Regions from separate parts of the Homo sapiens genome. Here region 1 is linked to region 2. Evidence: promoter capture Hi-C in 16 types of primary human blood cells and fetal thymus (Javierre and others, 2016). All regions are on one chromosome and are shown on one strand. The core of a region is centred on a gene start or on the middle of the fragment in contact, and the rest is flanking DNA. Distances in the headings are between cores, read along the strand shown.

What was found. Contacts are between HindIII fragments. The CHiCAGO score rates a contact against its expected background, and 5 or more counts as called.
Region 1: a fragment that was not itself captured here is called in contact with the fragment with the promoter of B3GALT2 in region 2 in 1 of 17 cell types (total B cells); the score reaches 5.1 in total B cells.

What each region holds. Positions count from the first base shown.
Region 1 is chr1:193,754,756-193,757,605 of GRCh38, forward strand. All of the region lies in intron 3 of LOC124904475 (a long non-coding RNA gene), which reads left to right. It also overlaps the pseudogene RPL23AP22. Among named protein-coding and RNA genes, the nearest start is that of LINC01031, 450 kb to the left of the region's middle. The HindIII fragment of the contact is 366 bases long and covers 1,382-1,747 here.
Region 2 is chr1:193,184,975-193,188,007 of GRCh38, forward strand. It overlaps B3GALT2 (beta-1,3-galactosyltransferase 2), which reads right to left and starts at 1,639. Exons shown (of 2, transcript NM_003783.3): 1 at 1,045-1,639. The region is part of intron 10 of CDC73 (cell division cycle 73); the gene reads left to right. The HindIII fragment of the contact is 388 bases long and covers 1,360-1,747 here.

The DNA.
Region 1 (2,850 bases), core at 315-2,814, 570 kb after region 2:
GTTTTTTTTTTTTTAAACTGGGATTCATATGTCTTTCATACAGTGGGTCACCGCAGAGAAATTTGTAGCATATTGTACTCAGTCAAGTGGACATTATCCTTAGGTTCTAGTACCATCCAGCAAGAAAATCCAGGTGGCTGAACTAGAATTAAGTTTAAATCTTATAAGCTCCCTTTTGGCTGGGCTGCCACTAGGAGGATGTTCCAATGAGGTCAACTGGGGTAGCTGTTAGAAATAACAAAGATGCATTATGATTTTTGAATTGGGTCTATTTTATATTTAATTCTGATTATTAGCCAGAATATGACAAAAAATGTATGAAGGCTGATCTAAGGCCATCAAAATGAGGATAGGGAAAACATCTGGAGGTGTTAGCAGGTAATTTGTGTAGGAGATACAGGATGTTTGGCCATCCCTTGCTGTCTCCTGTAAATTTCTTGGTAAGGTTAGAGGGAATAGCATTAAATTTGGTAGAGCCATCTGGTGGGGGATAGCAGAACCAACAGTTAAATTTAATATGTTTGCAACCATTTGGGAATACTGTACCAGAACATTTTCCATGCAGAATTTTTTTTCTATCAACACTTAACTGCCTGAAAAAATGAACTTTAACACCTTCAAAAGAGACAAAAATATCCTGTCTTACTATTCATAATGTACAGCTTCCAATAAAAATTTACAGATATGAGTAATTGCTATAAAATGTGATTCATAATTAAGAAAAATCTATTACAGTAAACAGATCTAGTAATAACAGAGTTGATGGAATTATCAATCTGTAACTTTAAAACAAACTTAAATGCAATAGTTAAAAATTTTTAAAAAGGCAGTGTTTGAAAATAGCAGCTGATTAGAAACTGCAGAAGAAAGGATTGATGAACTTGAAAACACAGCAATAGGAACTATCTAAACTCAAGCACAGAGGGGGAAAAATTGAAAAAATAAACAGAAGCCGAGTAGTCTGTGTTACAATATCAAGCAGTCTTACATGTATGTGATTAGATTGCCCGAGAGAGGAGAGAGAAGAGACAGAAAAACATATTTAAAGAAATAGTGGCCAACATTTTCCTAAATTTGTGAGAATTATACGCCCCTAAATCTGAGCTTCCCAAAGAATCTCAAGCAGCACAAACACTAAGAAAATTATACTAAGGTTCATCCTACTCAAAGTGCTAGAAATCAGTAAGCAGAAGGAAAAATTTTTAAAGTAGTTAGAAGTAAAAAAAAAAAAATTACGGAACCAAGATTTTAAAAAAATGCAGACTGCACTTCAGAAAAACTGCAAGTTAAAAAACAATGTAATCATATCTTCATAGAAAGAAAAAATATATTATTCTAGAATTCTATATCTCATGGAAATACTATTCAATAAGAAGTCAAAAGCTTTTGTACACAAAATCTGAGAAAATTCATTTTTAGCAGAAGTATACTTGAAATAACATTAAAGGGACCTCAGGTTGAAGACAAATGATACCAGGTGGACACTTAGATTTACGCAAAAGAATAAAAAGCACTGGAAATATTCAATTAAAATCCTTTAAAAGATAATTGAATAGTTGAAGTAAAAACAACAGTGTAACATTTATAAAAGTAAAGACTGTGGTAACAGTATCACAAAGGATAAAAGAAGCAAAATTGAAGTATTCTGTCTTACAGTATATGAGAAGTGGTATATTCTTTCAAGGTAGAATGTGATCAGTTGCATACGGTGACTTTAGAACAACTGAAAATAATTAAAAGATGAATAAGCTTTTGGTGGAAGTAAAATTGAATGCTATAGGACAATTCAGAAGGTGGCAGGAAAATGGGAGAGGGAAGGAAAAAACCACATATGACAAATAGAAACAGAAGATGTAGATTTCAACTATTTAATAATTACATGAAATAAATTGCCTGTAAATATTACATATTATATATAAATTATTAATTTTCCCATGGTCTATACTATATATACTATATATAATATATATTTATATTAAATATAAATATATATTTAATATAAATATATATTAAAATTTATATAATATATTTATATAATATATATATTATATAAAATTCATGATCCCAATTTTGTTCACAACATTCAAAGCATTGTAAGGAACCAGTTGAACAGAAGCCTTCTCTCCCTCAGGCTGATTAGCATGTTGACCTTGGCTACATTAATGTCATAGAACTTCTTCACAGCTTGTTTGATCTGGTGCTTGTTGGCTTTATCATTCATAATGAACACAAGTGTGTTGTCTTCTTTCTTCTTCATAGCTAATTCAGTGGTCAGGGGGACTTGGTAATGGCATAGTGGTCAAGCTTGTTTCTCCTGGGGGCACTCTTCCAAGGATATTTAGGGTTCCTCCCAAGCCATAGTGTCTTGGGCCACTGGAAGGTAGGTGATGTGCATATCTTTTTCTGTGTGGCTGTGGATATCTTTGAGTACTGCCTTTTCGGCTTTCAAAGGCTTCGCTTCGGCCTGAGCTTTGGGAGGGGCAGGAGCTGCCTTCTTCAGCTTTGGCACCACCTTGTGAAAAACTGCCCTAGATATTTCAGTTCAAAGTCAGAGACTGTCAGAATAAAGACAAGCTCTAACTACTTACTACTGAAAAATATGCAATTTAAATATAAAAACAGATAAGTGGAAATTTTAAAAGATAGAAAAATATGTATCATGTTGATATTACAATGATCTCACCAGGAATAAAAAGAGGTTTCATAATGATGAAAGGGTCACTTTATCAAGAAGACATAAAGTCTTAAGTGAGTATTTACCTAATAACAGAGCTACAAAATGATATAGAAACAGTAGTAATTCTAAATAAAACCCAATAGAACTGAAAGAAGAAATAAGACAAATTTACA
Region 2 (3,033 bases), core at 389-2,888:
TTTAAGTTCTTGAGCCCTGAGTTGCTGTTCTATGATTGTTGCTAAAATAGTTTATTTGGTTTATCTGTGCCCTGCACACACATATAGTGGCGGTAGTTCATTACTGCATATTAATATAGCCTGGAAGCATAGTAGCTACATTTATATTTAATTTTTTGACCTTGTATTGCCATTTGTGGATATTTTTGTATCAAAGTATTTCCATATTATGTTTTTGAATTTCACTTCTGAAATGATAATCAGAGACAACGTTAAATTTGATCATTTGGAATCAGTCTTTTACATAAAATGTAAGCTATTTAAAATAGTTAATTTTTAAAGCCACTATTGATGTCCCTTTGTTTAAAGTTCTATTCATGGTCACTATAATAACACGAGGCTCTATTGTGGGGTTATGCATAAACTCACACTACCTTATGTGATCTTATGTTAATGCTTTCCTTTTAGTATCTTCTTGTAGCTTGGTAATATTTAAAATTTGTTGATACTCTCTTTGGTTGTGTTCATTATCTTCATTTAGGGAGATGTTGGGGAAGATTTTGTTACTAAAAGCTGTTACATATTAAGGTTTTGTTTTAAAAGGACTTTGAAAAAAAAACTCTTAAGGTTTTCCTTGCTACTATTTAATGAAATTTCACTGCATTGTGTCTTTTGATAGCCATTTTTAAGAGAGCATTTAATTTACTAGATAAGGATTCAGTTTGACCTAATTTGATAGAATATTGCTGTGTTTTTTGTAAAGGGCTACAGATTTTTTTTTAAGTTTAATTTCTTAAGGAATCCTTTAAACACATCTTCTTCTTATTTGCCTTTTCCCTCTGATGTCTATTACCCAGAATTACTCCAAGCTACATATTTAGCTGCATAAAGCAGTGACAGCTTGTCTTCTAAACAATGACAAATTTTAAAATCAGATATTAAGAAACCTTTTCATAGTTTCAAGGGCAGTGAGCTGTATGAACTTGCTTATCAGGTATTAGTGCCTCCAGGGCTATAAAAAGGTAACACATTTAAATGACTATCATACACAAGATATTGACATACCTTCCTTGGTCAGGCCATTTATGTGAAGAGGATTATGCCCACTGAAAATACTTTTGGCACGCCATCACTTCAGCAAAAAAGATGCTATCGAACATGCGCACATCCCCCAACAGTCTGCCTCCTGCGATTGCTTTTCACAGTATCCAAAGTGTCCATCTGTCTGCTTGTCTTCGAGTTACCCTCCTTGTTCATATGGGTCCTAGTCTTCTGAAATTTTCCCTTTCTTTCATTTTCTCTCTTTCGTTAAACAAAAGAGCTGTAGTTGCCCGTTCTGCTTGTAGCACTGTTGACTCTTCCCGACAGTTGATGCATTGAAGCTTTTTACATCTGCTATTTTCCTGGCTGGACAATGCAGTGCTGTGTTCTCGTCTCAGTATCCATATTTCTACTAATAACACTGAGCTGCAATGTAAAGCAGCCAGAGCTAAAATGTAGTGCTTCAGTTGTATTGGAAAAGAATAGGATTTACCTCTCTTCTTTCGTTGTTGCCTGGCAGCTGCAGGAAGGATTTTGAGCAGTTTTAATGGGGTTTTAGTCTATAATATGAAATCCACGGTTCCTCAGCTGCTGCACAGGCAGGCAGCAGTTTAAATGTGGGCTTGACAGATGCTCTCTCTGACAGAGCAGAATTTAACGTCACTGCTTGGCTGAATCCCACGTGATTGTTTGCATTCATTTTGACTAAAAACCTAAGGTAGGGAGAAGCTTAGAGATTTTGCTTTTATGTGATAAATTATATATGTTGAATGCAAGTGTAGTGATGAGTGAATAATTTGAAAATGTGATGATTATGAAATGGTTATGATTTTATTTTTTCCAGCTTACTTCCTTTTTTAACTTTATTCTTAAGTACAGGCTTTCTAAGTGTTTTCTGTGTTAGATGTTGGTTTTCATGTTTCTTACATGCTTTTGTAGGGTGTAAGCAGTATAAGCTTTTGTGTGTAAGTTGGTGTAATTTAACCCCTTCAGTGCATTCTCTTCTTGAAGTTTTTTTTCTCTGCTTTCAAATTGCTCTTGATTTTTTACTAATATGTAGTTAAGACCTATGGTTTCTATTGAAACCATGTATCTTTGTAATTTAGATCCCCCCCCCCGTTTTCTGGGGTTTGTATAAATAAGCTGTCTTGGATTACTTTACTAATGCATGATGTGATACAGCCCACTTCTTTTTTGCTCTTATGTGGTTTTTGGTGTTCTTGATGGCAGAAAACTTTATTTTAAATCACTTTTTAATGTTGTCATTTATTTTTTATTTATTTTTCCTTCCCTTTAAAATTACATGTATCGTAGAATTCAGTAAAATGATGTAATAGATATAGCACACTTGTACAGGATCTGGGGGTAATGAGATTTTACTAATTATGTTTACTTATTCTAATGTTTCAGAAAGATTTAATAACTTGCCATGAGGCAGATTTTATTAACACTACACACTCACTGAGATTTTTCTAATATGGTTAGTTTCTGGGGCTGGCACCTTCTTTTCTTACTGCAGAGCAGTAGGGAAGGTTTTTTTAAATTTTTTGTTGTAGTAAAAAGCCTTTATTATCAGTTTTTCCTCTGTGACTCTAGGGACAGTAATTCAGTCCTAGAAAGTTATAGTTTTGGAGCTTAAGCTAAAGGTTAACAGTTATATACATATTCTTCATCTCACTGCCTCCACCATTAATATATGCTATTTCAAATGAATATGAATTTGTTTTCTCTGATATTAAAAAAAATTTTGTCCACATATTTTTGAGCTTTGCTGATGAAATGTGCTTTGTAGTTTTAAGAACCCCACTGTATTAGAAATGTTAGAAGGATCGTTAAAGAAAAAAAAGAATTTTATAAATAGGAAACCTAAAGCCTAGACTGAGCTTTGACTTTTCCTAGTTAAGTTTGAAGGAGAGGACTAAAACCCAACTTCCTTGTAGTCTATATCCACCCATACTGCAATTCTCACTCACTACCGTTTTGTTTTTAAAATTAGTTTACTAGTTAACAGAG